Regions from separate parts of the Homo sapiens genome. Here region 1 is linked to region 2. Evidence: promoter capture Hi-C in human tissues and cell types (Jung and others, 2019). All regions are on one chromosome and are shown on one strand. The core of a region is centred on a gene start or on the middle of the fragment in contact, and the rest is flanking DNA. Distances in the headings are between cores, read along the strand shown.

The links. The method cuts DNA at HindIII sites, captures the fragments that hold promoters and counts their contacts. A contact is called where the count stands out against the background at its distance.
Region 1: a contact is called between a fragment that was not itself captured here and the fragment with the promoter of CEP85 in region 2, in 1 of the 25 tissues and cell types used here (bladder).

The regions. Positions count from the first base shown.
Region 1 is chr1:25,918,737-25,925,176 of GRCh38, forward strand. No RefSeq gene overlaps it. Among named protein-coding and RNA genes, the nearest start is that of MIR3917, 16 kb to the left of the region's middle. The HindIII fragment of the contact is 9,013 bases long and covers 1-6,440 here.
Region 2 is chr1:26,231,577-26,237,795 of GRCh38, forward strand. CEP85 (centrosomal protein 85) reads left to right here and starts at 2,624. Exons shown (of 14, transcript NM_001319944.2): 1 at 2,624-2,734. RefSeq lists enhancers at 2,823-2,972, 3,293-3,352, 3,443-3,492. The HindIII fragment of the contact is 8,629 bases long and covers 1-4,165 here.

The DNA of each region.
Region 1 (6,440 bases), core at 845-3,344, 310 kb before region 2:
TGAGAAAGCAGTACTGCCCTGGGGTGGATGCAGGCCCCATCACTCTACTGGATTACCAGGCAGCCTCCCAATTGGTCCTCAGTCTGCCCCTCCCACATAGGCGCTCATAACCCAAATCCCTACGGAGGGGTCAGGAGAAGAGGCGGCACCAGAGGGGACAGAGCAGGCAGCACACTGGAGAGTGCAGGCCCCACCCGGGCAGGAGGACGAGCATGTTCTGCTGATACCTTAAAAAAAAAAAAAAAATTGGCTTGGCGCGGTGGCTCACGCCAGTAATCCCAGCACTTTGGGAGGCCAAGGCGGGAGGATCATGAGGTCAGGAGATCGAGACCATCCTGGCTAACGCGGTGAAACCCCGTCTCTACTAAAAATACAAAAAAAATTAGCCAGGCATGGTGGCCAGGTGCCTGTAGTCCCAGCTACTCGGGAGCCTGAGGCAGGAGAATGGCGTGAACCCGGGAGGTGGAGCTTGCAGTGAGCCGAGGTTGCGCCACTGCCCTCCAGCCTGGGCGACACAGCAAGACTCGGTCTTGAAAAAAAAAAAAAGAAAAAAAAATTTTTCCAGCTGGGCATGGTGGCTCACGCCTGTAATCCCAACACTTTGGGAGGCCAAGATGGGCAGATCACTTGAGCCCAGGAGTTCCAGATCAGCCTGGCCAATATGGCGAAACCCCATCTCTACTAAAAATACTGGCCGTGGTGGCTCACACCTGTAGTCCCAGCAACTCGGGAGGATGAAGCAGGAGAATGCTTGAACCTGGGAGGCTGAGGCTGCAGTGATCCAAGATTGAGCCACTTTACTCTAGCCTGGGCGACAGAGAGAGACTCTGTCTAAAAAAAAAAAAAAAAAAAAAAAAAAAAAAAATCCTACTTTTATTTCAGGAGGTACATGTGCAGATTTCTTAAATGGGTATAATGTGTGATGCTGAGGTTTGGGATACCAATGATCTTGCCACCCAGATGGTAGCATAGATTACCCAACAGTTGGTTTTTCAAGTCTGTTTTCTTCATTACCATAGAACAGTGCCTGACAAATACTAGGTTCTCAATACATAGTTGGTATATGAACCAGCCAAGTTCATTAGGGGCTCAGAGCACAGTGGTTAAGAGTGTGGGCTCTGGAGTCAGGGTCTCTGAGTTCACATCCTGATTCTGCCTCTTACCTTCCGCAGAGTTTTTAGGATGAGTACCAGAAAACTCAGCCCAGGGAAGAATTTGTTGTTTTGATGCTGATTGTCCATTCATTCAACAGAAGGTTACTGATGAACCATGAGGTGTCATGTCTTGTACTAGGCCCTGGGAGCACAGGAAGAAAGAAGGCATGTCCCTGGCCTCAAGAGCTCATAGTAAGTAGACAAGCAGCTCAGAGCACTGATGGGGCGCAGGGGAGCAGAGGCTAACCCAGGCAGCGGAGGGGAAACAAGGAAGGCCTCCTAGAGAAAGGGGTGGCTGAGCTGATGAGGCCTGAAGGAAGCTTGTAGGCAAAGAGGAATGGGGAGAGGGTGCCAGGAAGAGGAAATAGCACAGCCAAATGCCTAGAAGAAGCCAGCCTAGAGCAGTAGCTGAACTGCAAGTAGTTTGCCCTGTCCCTCCAGCAGGTTTCAAGTTGAGGGATGTTAACCCTGGATTTGAGACAGGGGAGGGGATCTGGGGCAGCAGCACCAAGGCCATTCCTTGTGAGGTAGGAGGCAGGACTCGACACTGAATGAGATTTAAGACTGGCTGACGTGCCTACCAGTGCCATGACAGTTTACCCATTCCCTAGCAACAACCTGGAAGTTACCACCTTTTTCTAGAAATTTCTGGATAACCGGCCAGGCGCGGTGACTCACACCTGTAATCCCAGCACTTTGGGAGGCTGAGGCAGGCGGATCACGAGGTCAGGAGTTCGAGACCAGCGTGGCCAGCATGATGAAACCCCATCTCTACTAAAAATACACAAATTAGCCAGGCATGATGGCACACACCTGTAATCCCAGCACCTCTGGAGGTTGAGGCAGGAGAATCACTTAAACCCGGGAGGTGGAGGTTGCAGTGAGCCGAGATTGTACCACTGTACTCCAGCCTGGGCGACAGAGTGAGACTGTGTCTCAAATAAAAACAAATTTCTGAATAACCTGCCCCTTAATTTGCATGTAATTAAAAGTGGATATAAATGAAACTGCAGAACTGCCCCTGAGCTGCTAGACTCCACTCTCTCCTCAGTGGGAACAGTCACGGAGCTGTAACACTGCTGCCTCAATAAAGCTGTTTTCTTCTACCACTAGTTCACCCTTGAATTCTTTCCTGGTGGAAGCCAAGAACTTTCCCCAGTGGAGCGCCAGTGTTGAGGCTCCCCTGCCCTGCAAAATGTGTAAGCCCTTTGGGGTTGGGCGGGGAGCTAGGACTTTAAGGATGACCATCTAGAATCACAACATTGCAGGTTCTTTGAGCTGAGGGACCTGATGGGTCACACAGTCACTCTTGAATCCCTTCCCTGCATGTTGAAAAACTAAAAACCCAAAAAGTACAAAGAAGAAAATAACAATTATTCATATTTCCTATCACCTGGAATTAAACCACTGTTTACATTTTGACATACTTGTCTCCAGTATTTCATGAACATGCAGCTTAAAATTCCTTAAGTAATATATTAATGTACTGCCATTTTTATTTTATTTATTTATTTATTTATTTATTTATTGAGACAGAGTCTCGCTGCGTCACCCAGGCTGGATGGCAGTGGCGCGATCTCAGCTCACTGCAACCCCCGCCTCCTGGGTTCAAGCGATTATCTTGCCTCAGCCTCCCGAGTGACTGGGACTACAGGCGCCACCACGCCCGGCTAATTTTTGTATTTTTAGTAGAGATGGGGTTTCACTATGTTAGCCAGGTTGGTCTTGAACGCCTGACCTCGTGATCTGCCTGCCTTGGCCTCCCAAAGTGCTGGGATTACAGGGGTGAGTCACTGCACCCGGCTCTCATTTTAAAAAATAAAATTAGAATATTACAAAGAAAGCTGAAGTTGCCTCTCATCTCCACTTGCTATCCCAACTCCCCGCCCCTCTCTCCAGAGACAGCCACTCAGATGAATTAGGAGTGAACTGGAACTGAACTGAAAAGAACTGAATTGAAAATAATTTTTCAGTTATTTTTTAAAAAATGCTTTTATGTTCTGTTTGAATGTAATCACAGAAAATCCACAGTTCTGCTTAACATGTTACAAAAATTGTATTATATTGTATGCATTATTGTGCAACTTTCTACTTTTACTTAATATATTTTAGAGCTCTATCCATTTCTCTGCATGCATAGATCTGGCTTATTCCTTCTGTGATGCAGTGACCCGTTATGTAGATAGACCCCATTGTATTCATTCATTCCCTATGGACAGCCCTTGAGCTCTTTTCAGTGGTTTGTTATTAGATATGGTCCCGCAAGAGACAGCCTTCCTGAGTACATGTGCAAATATTTTTCTAGGGTAGAGACCAAGACATAGGATTATCTGGCACATGTCATGAATATTTCCAGTTTAAAGACAAATCCAGAGAATGCATTTCCCCATAACCTCACCAATATTTGCCATTGTCTAATTTTATTCCTTCCTTGCATTTTTGTAGCTGAAAAGACCGAGGCCTGAGGCTGGGTCACAGAGTGGGTTAGGTTCAGGGTCAAGACTAGACCCCACATCGCTTGGGGAAAGGAAAGGCCACGGTGTGAGAGGGAGTTGGCGGGGAGGGAATGGCTGAAATTAAACATGGTGATTATCCCACCATCAGTGGAAGTTATCCAGCAGCAGTGGACATGACTGCGAATCCTCCAGAAAATGGCTTCGCTGCGCTCCACGGATCTGCTCTCCCACCCCACCTGCGGCTTGCACAGCGACACACAAGCGTTGTGATTGGCTCTTCCTTGGCTGAGACAAGGGTGGGGACCGAAATGGCGTCTCTAACAGCTGATTTTTCAGGGCAGCAGCTCTGTGCTAGGAGAAGAGAAGGCCGGGCTCACTGGCGGTGCGGAGCCCGCCAGGGCCAATCCGCATCCGGGCGGAGGTGCAAGCCCGACCGCAGTACTGACACGTGCCGCGACGTCCCCTCCCGGCAGCTCGCGGGGACCTGGGAGCGGGTGGGGTCTCTGGCTGGCGGGGAGCCAGGGCTGCGGGAAACCGCACGAGGTCGCGTTCGCGAGTGGCGGAGAAGCCCAGACCCCCGGGCGCACGCGGCCGCGCCCACCCAGGTCGCTGGGAGGTGCCCGCCCGGGAGGCGCCGCGGCCAGTGCCTGCCGTTAGCTTCAGGAAGAACTAGGATTGAGTAAGAAACGACTAGGGATGGAAGCACTTGGCACTCCGGGTCTCGGAGCAGGCTGGGGACGCCCGCGGCAGGAACCTGGTCCTCCACTCCGGGTGCGGACCAAAGTCTGCTAGGGCTTCCCCGAAGTGGATTCAGTGACTCGGGAGAGGACCCAGCCCCTAGGCCCCATCCCCGGTTAAGGGCCAGTCTTGGTCTGGGTGTTTCTCTCCGGGAGCTGGTCGCAGGTTTCCGTTTTCCTCTTCAAGGAAGGAAAGACCAGCGAGAGAATTCGAGGGAAAGAACAAAAGCCGCCGGCACCGCCCAGCCCAATTTTTGGAGCCTGGGAGGCTGGCTCCCTTCCTCTGACCGCTGGGACGACTCGGAGGGCTGGCGCTTTTTCCTTCACCACCATTTCTTCCCAGCGACCAACTTTTGAGTCCTTGCTGTGTGCCAAGCACTTCACTGAGTGTCATATCTCACTTCCTCCCCACGACAATTGTAAGACATGACAGGCTTGGAAAGGAGAAGTCATTTGCCAAGGTCACGCGTGGAAAAAACGAGGGCTAGGAAATTCAGATCCTGGGTTTTAAATATTTTTGTATTAGAAAGGGTCTAAAAGTTAAATATTTGCAAACCTTTGCTAATCTTTCACAGATCCTTTTGAAATAATGACTATTGAGAATAAACCCTGCAGACATCTCCATACCGTTTTGTGTGTGTGTGTGTGTGTGTGTGTGTGTGTGTGTGTTTTAACTTGTCAGCCAGGCAGGTCCGTGGGAGGAGGGAGCAGCGCGCGAATGAGAGTGTAAACAGGTAACGAACACTTTTCTGGAAAGCAGTAGTGCCATTTCTATCGAGAGCTTTAAAAACTGTGCGTATCCTCTACTCGGGAAATGGCCACCCTCTGTGGAGATAGCAATAGTTTTCCACATGTAAAATCCCTGGGACCCAGCAATTCCTTTTAAGGGAATCCATTGTAGAGATGGGTGTGCTTGCACATATACAAAATGGCATACACACGTAAGGACGTTCATGACTGCACTGTTTCAGGAGCGAAGGATGAAAAACAACCCAGAAATGTATCAATAGAATTGATTAATTTAATCTGGCACTTCCATTTAAAGGAATTCTATGCAATATTTTAAGAAAATAAGGCAGTTCTCTATTTTATGTATAGAGCAATCATCAAGAAATATTAAGCAAAAAGAGGAAAGTGCAAAAGTATCTGATGTGCTACTGTTTCTATATGAAAAAGGGATCTATATTTTAAAATATATATATTTAAATATATAGATTCCCCCATAAGAAATATACACATGAAGAAAACAGGCAACCACATTGCCTTTAAGAAGAAAAACCTAACTATCACACTAGCCTTTAAGTGAAAAAAAAAAAAAAGAAAGAAAAAAGCAAAAAAAAAAGAAGGAATCACTGCTAAACGACCAAGCAGGAGAATTATTATTCTTATTGTGTAACCTTTAGTACCTTTGGAATTGTGTGCCATGTTTACATAACAACAATTCGAAATTCAACTTAAAAAAATAAATTCCCTGCCTCTAGACCCAGTACTTCTCCTTTTTGGAATCTAGCTTAAGGAAGTTAATGGATTTCAGACAAAGATTTATGCAAGAAGATATTCACTGAGGTGTTATCGTACAGGAAAAAGATGTAGGCAACTTAAAAGCCCAACAACAGAGGAACAGATAAGAAAATTATGGTATGTACATGTACTGCCTACCATGAAATCATAAAAAGAATGTTTATAAAAAATTTTATTGACATGGGAAAATGCTTATAACATTAAGTAATGAAGTCCTAGATAGAAAATTGTGTATGCAAGCTGGGCATGGTGGCTCACGCCTACAGTCTCAGTACTTGGGAGGCTGAGGCAGGGGGATCACTTGAGGCCAGGAGTTTTGAGACCAGCCTGGGTGATATAGGGAGACCCAGTCTCTGACCACTGTAACAGGAGCAGGCATAAAAAAATAATGGAAGAAAACATGCCAAAAAGTAAACAATTGTGGTTGCTGGACAGAGACACTGTGAGTGATATTTTTCCCCCCTCTGTAGCTTTCTTTCTTTTCTTTTTTTTTTTCTTCTTTTTTGAGACAGAGTCTTGCTCTGTCGCCAGGCTGGAGTGCAGTGGCACGATCTCGGCTCACTGCAACCTCC
Region 2 (6,219 bases), core at 1,374-3,873:
TGGAGGTTGAACGGGAGGATAGCTTGAGCCCAGGAGTTTGAGCCCAGCCTGGGCAACATAAAGAGACTCCTTCTCAAATGCATGTGTGTCTGTGTGTGTGTGTGTGTGTGTGTGTGTGTGTTCCTCCTTTGAAACAATTTTCCAGTCTGATTCTTCAAGCTCATATTAACGCAAATGGACTTAATGGTTCCTTTTCCTGGGGACTAAGTTTGGGGAGGAAGGCAGGACTGATTCCTTACCCTTCAAACTAAACCCTGGTCACAGGCTGACCAGTGCCTCCAACCCAGACCAAGCCCTGACCCTAGCCTCAGACTGTGCAATAACCCTGACTAGCATATATGTATATATATACATATGACAAGTCATTCACATTTGAAAATTGGCAGTAGGGCCGGCCACGGTGGCTCACGCCTGTAATCCCAGGATTTTGGGAGGCCAAGGCGGGCAGATCACCTGAGGTCAGGAGTTCGAGACCAGCCTGGCCAACATGGTGCAACCCCGTCTCTACTAAAAATACAAAAATTAGCCGGGTGTAGTGGTGGGTGCCTATAGTCCCAGCTACTCAGGAGGCTGAGACAGGAGAATTGCTTGAACCTGGGAGGCAGAGGTTGCAGTGAGCTGAGATCGTGCCACTGCACTCCAGCCTGGGTGACAGAGCAAGACTCTGTCTCAAAACAAAACAAAAAAGAAAATTGACAGTAGATAATGGAATTACTTTTAAACTATAGATATCTATTACAAAGAACTGTACAAATGTACTGTTTGCTATTTGTAAATTTAAATCTCAACACTTCCACTATGTTTCCAGTCGGATTTCTCTTCTATCCTCTGTATCAGCAATTCACATCTTCCTAATTCTTCTCAGTCCTCTAGATGCCCCTGTTCCCTCCCTCCTCACATATGCCTTTCACAAAAGAAATGGAAGCCTTTCAATGTTTTCTGACTCTTCTTTCTCTTTCTTTCTTTCTTTTTCTTTCTTTCCTTCTTTCCTTCCGTCTTTCCTTCTTTCCTTCTTTCTTTCAGAACCTCGCTCTGTTGCCCAGGCTGGAGTGCAGTGATCTTGGCTCACTGCAACCTCTCCTCCTGAGTTCAAGTGATTCTCTTGCCCCAGCTTCCCCAGTAGCTGGGATTACAGGTGCCCACCACCACACCTGGCTAATTTTGTATTTTTAGTAGGGTTTTATCATGTTGGCCACAGGCTGGTCTCAAACTCCCGACCTCAAGTGATCCACCTGCCTGGGCCTCCCAAAGTGCTGGGATTACAGGCGTGAGCCACCGTGCCCGGCCAGGACTAACACTTTCTAGCTTTCTACCCTTCAGTCCATAAATTTATTCATTTAGACACCCTGTCTTAACATTTTTTTTTTTAGCCTTTACGTTAACAGAGGCTTCTGGTCCTAATTTCATATCATACCCAGGTTCATTTTCATTATCCATTAAATCTGCTATTTTATGTCTTCTATATTCTTATCTTAAAATACTAAAAGAGAGGACAAAGGATACAACCTTGGGGCACATCCCTAGGGTCTTTCCTCTAGAGTGACTTTTATTCAGTAATGAACTCACTTTGTCTGGCTCTTAAAGCTAAGAAATTATACAACTTTTTTTTTCCATACAACTTTTTTTTGGAGTGCAGGGGCACGATCTCGGCTCACTGCAACCTCCGGCTCCCTGGTTCAGGCGATTCTGCTGCCTCAGCCTCCCGAGTAGCTGGGATTACAGGTATGCGCCACCACACCCAGCTAATTTTTGTATTTTTAGTAGAGACGGGGTTTCACCATATTGGCCAGGATGGTCTCGATCTCCTGACCTCGTGATCCGCCCTCCTCTGTCTCCCAAAGTGCTGGGATTACAGGCATGAGCCACCGCGCCCGGCCTCCTATACAATTTTTTAGTATCTCTCCCTGCCAAGTCAGGTTTCTAGATACCCAGAATTTCACTATCTGAGATTCATTCCTTTGGCTGATGGTTCTGTTCTCCTTTCAAACAATTTTCCTGTCTGACTCTTCAAGCGCATATTAATGCAAATGGACTTAACAGTTCCTTTTCCTGTGGACCAAGTTTGGGGAGGGAGGCAGGACTGATCCTTTACCCTTCAACCTGAACCTTGGTCACAGGCTGACCACTGCGTCCAACCCAGACCAAGCCTTGACCCTGACTAGTCAGTGACCCAGGCCACACCCTAACTCCTGGTCACAACCTGAACCCCTGCTTCAGGTGTGAGAACTGATAGACCGGCGTTGGAATGGAAGGAGGGTGAGGCAAGCTGAGTGGGATTCTCGTGTCCCCAGCCCCGCCCGCGGGCCGCCAGCTTCCCAACCTGCACAGGCCCAGCAGGGCCCCTCCAGGTCTAGGTGAGCAGAGCTCCACCTACAGGTAAAACGCGGCAAGGGGCAGAGAAGGAGCCAAGTGGCGACGTGGTCATGCGCAGAAAGATCCGTCCGGCTCTCTGAGCAGAGGGTAGCGTGTGGGGGCGGGATACCGACGCGGCTCGGCTGCCGATTGGTCAGAAGAGGATAGAAAGGGGCGGGAAGCCGGCGCGGCTCGACTCCCGATTGGCCAGAGGCGGCAGAACGGGGTGGGGCCAAACGACGCGCGTTCTGTGGCGCGCGGCCTGGCGGGCGTGCAACGGCCGTTAGAGGAGCTGAGGGAGGGAACCACCGCTCACCGCAGACGTGGTGGCTGCAGTCAGTCTTCCCGAGTGAGGGATTTCGCCGCCCGCTTTCAGGCCCGTGTAAGTTTTCCTCCTTCGGGAGCCTCAGTCCTAGTGGCCGACCTTGCCTCTCCTCCCATAGCTCCGGCGAAGCCTCAGACGCTCGCGACCTGCCACCGTGAGGGGCCGGGGAGAGCGAAGCGCATGCGCCTCGGCTCCGAAGCCAGTGCCCCGGCATACGCCCTCTCGCGTCCCATTCCCCTCGCTTCCCCCGTTGCCTTGCTTTGCCGTCCGTGGTTCACCCCACGGCAGTCACTTTACCTGCGTGCCAGGCCCTGTGCCGATAGCCAGGGACACAGCGAGCGGCGCATTCCTTGCCCTTGCGGAGCGCACAGCCCTGGGAGTCGACGTTAAGCGGGGTAATCCCTCGGCGCGCAGTGAGGGTAGAGTGGAGAAATCTTACAAAGAGCGCAAAACAGAAGGCGCGGATCTAGTCGGAGAGGTCAGGGAGCCCTCCCCGAGGAGGAGAAGTTTGAGCCGAGATTGGAAGGCTGTGTAGAGAATTAAGGTTGTGGGACGGAAAGCACTTGGCGGGGCCTTACCCCGGTACTTCTCGGCCGGGGCGATTTTGCTTCCCTGGGGACATTGGTCGATGTCTGGAAACACTTTTGATAGTCACAGCTCCAGGGCTTGCTACTGGCATCTAGTGCGAAGAAGCCAGGGATGCTGTTACACAGCCTACTGTGTGTAGGACGCCCCCAACAACAAAGAAAAATCCCCCAAAATGTCAGTAGGGCGGAAGGTGAGGAAGCTTCCTTCAGCGAGAAGGAGCTGGTGCTTTGGTTGAACTGAAAGTTAGTGTGTTCAGGTTTATTTGTTCAACAGTATATTCAACGCTTACTTCACCTCAGTTAATGAGAGCGATCCTTTACACCAGTACATTCCCAACACGTGGCTCAGAGCCAGGCGCATAGTAGGCACGCAGTAAATTTCGGTTGATGAATTGAACACTGGGATAAGTAGGGGGCGGTGGTGATACAAGGACGATGAAGCTAGCCAGGCCTCATTTATTTGCCCTCAAACCTTGTCTGCTTTATAGTGATCTGGTGGTTTTGTATGTCTCACGACTTTTCTTTGTAAAGGCAACTTCTTGTCAAGGATTTGGCTTCTCTTTCACAAGGTTTAATGAATGATCAAGGCGGTGAAAATAGTGTAATGGTGTGAGATCCTTCGTGTGTCTGTGTCAGCTGTCTGTGTATCCCTTCAAATCCTCTCTTGTCTTGATGTGGTTCTCTTAACAGCTGCCAAGCATGATGTTCCACACTTAGATTGTAATTCTTTTTTTTTTTTTTTTTTTTGTGAGACGGAGTTTTGCTCTTGTTGCCCAGGCTGGAGTGCCGTGGCGCGATGTCGGCTCACCGCAACCTCCGCCTCCCAGGTTCAAGCGATTCTCCTGCCTCAGCCTCCCGAGTAGCTGGGATTACAGGCATGCGCCACCATGCACGGATAATTTTGTATTTTTAGTAGAGACGGCGTTTCTCCATGTTGGTCAGGCTGGTCTCAAACTCCCGACCTCAGGTGATCCGCCCGCCTCGGCCTCCCAAAATGCTGGGATTACAGGCGTGAGCCACCACGCCCGGCCACACTTAGATTGTAATTCTTATAGGGGAAAAATACTTACGGCAGTCAAAATCTAATTCTTGGGTAGCAACTTGAGAAATAAAGCCTAGGTGATGACCAAGGACAAAGTGAAGAAATTTTATGAGCTTTTACTGCTCATATAATTGAGGCTTGCAGCTCTAGCTGTCTGAGGCAGAAACTCCAACTTGTGGTGCCATGCTTGATCTCTTTTTTTGTGTTTTGTCACATGTAGAATGCTGACTAGACTACTGTAGCGTTAGAGTACAGTCCTGGCTTTGAAGCCTCTTCCTAGCCATATGACCTTCACTACTGTAAACCTTTATTTTCTCATCCATAAAATGAGGATAATAGTAACTGCCTCATAGGGTTGATGTGAACATGAAACATGAGACATGATACTTAAAAAGTGTTGAGCACAGTGTTTGATAGGTAGTAAGTGCAGAATGCATGTTAAATTTGTTGAATGAGTGACTGTTTCTGTAGTTTAAAGGGCTTTGAAGATGGAAACCAATCCTGTTGGGTGCTTTTTTTTTTTTTCCCCTCTGTCTGCCTCCATTCACTCCCTTTCTAAGCTTTATAACTGGTGTGTTACTTCTTGTACATTCACTTCTCTCATTTTTATCCCAGGAAATTTCTGTCTCCTTCAGTTGTCCCAAAAATTTCCACCAGTAGCTCATCTAATTCTTAAGTCAAGAATGATTTATTTTGTATTGTTTTACTCCTTACGGGGTTTCTTTCTTTCTGTTTTTCTTTTTTGAGATATTTGTTGTCAATGAGGGTCAGACTCTGAAATATTTGAAGGGATTTATTCTGAGCCAAATATGGGTGACCAGTGGCCCCTGACACAGCCCTCAGGTGATCCTGATAACGTGTGCCCTGGTTTTAAACATTTTAGGTAGACATGAGACATCAGTCAAATACATGTAAGATTTACATTGATCTGGAAGGGTAAGACAACTCTTAGTGGGTGGGGGCTTCCAGGTCATAGGTAGATTTCAAAATTTTCTGATTGGCAGTTGGTTGAAAGTTGTTATCAATAGAAAGGAATGTCTGGGTTAAGGTATCCTGGGGATCAACATTTTATTGTACAGATGAAGCCTCCAAATAGTAGGCTTTAGAGAGAATAGATTATAAATGTTTCTTACAGACATCTGTGTTAATGTTAATGCTTTTCCTAAATTCCAGAAGGGAGGAGGGTATAATGAGGGGTGTAGGACTCCACCACCACTACCACCATCATGGCCTTAACAGGTTTTTCAGCTTAACTTTGGAATGCCATTGGCCAAGGGGAGGGATCCATTCAGGTGGTTGGGGATGTCTTAGAATTTTTTTTTTGGCTTATATCACATAACATAAAATTTAATTTTATGTGTGTGCAATTCAGAGGTTTTTAATATATTGGCAAGGTTGTGCAGTCAGTCACCACTATCTAATCTCAGAACATTTTGATCACCCTGAAAAGAAACCCGGTATCCATTAGCAGTCCCTTCCTATTCTCCTACCCTCCCTCCTCTCAGTCCTTTGCAATCACTAATCTGTGTCTCTATGGATTTGCCTATTCTGACATTTCATATAAATAGGATCAAGCCTTTTGTTTGGCTTCTTTGACTTTGCATGTCTTCAGTGTTCATCCATGTTGTCACATGTATCAGTACTTCCTTTTATTGCTGAATAATACTCTGTTTTTTGGATATACCACATTTTATGTATCCATTCATTAGCTCATGGACGTTTGTGTTGTTTCCACTTTTTGGCTATTGTAAATAATGCTGCTACGAACATTCTTATTGAAGCTTTTGTGTAAACCTGTGTTTTCATTTCTCTTGGGTGTATACTTCAGTGTGGAATTGCTGAGTCATAGGGTAACTCGGAGTTCTCCTTCTGTCACCGTATTTTCAACTTGTCTGAATTTAGAAACACCTTAG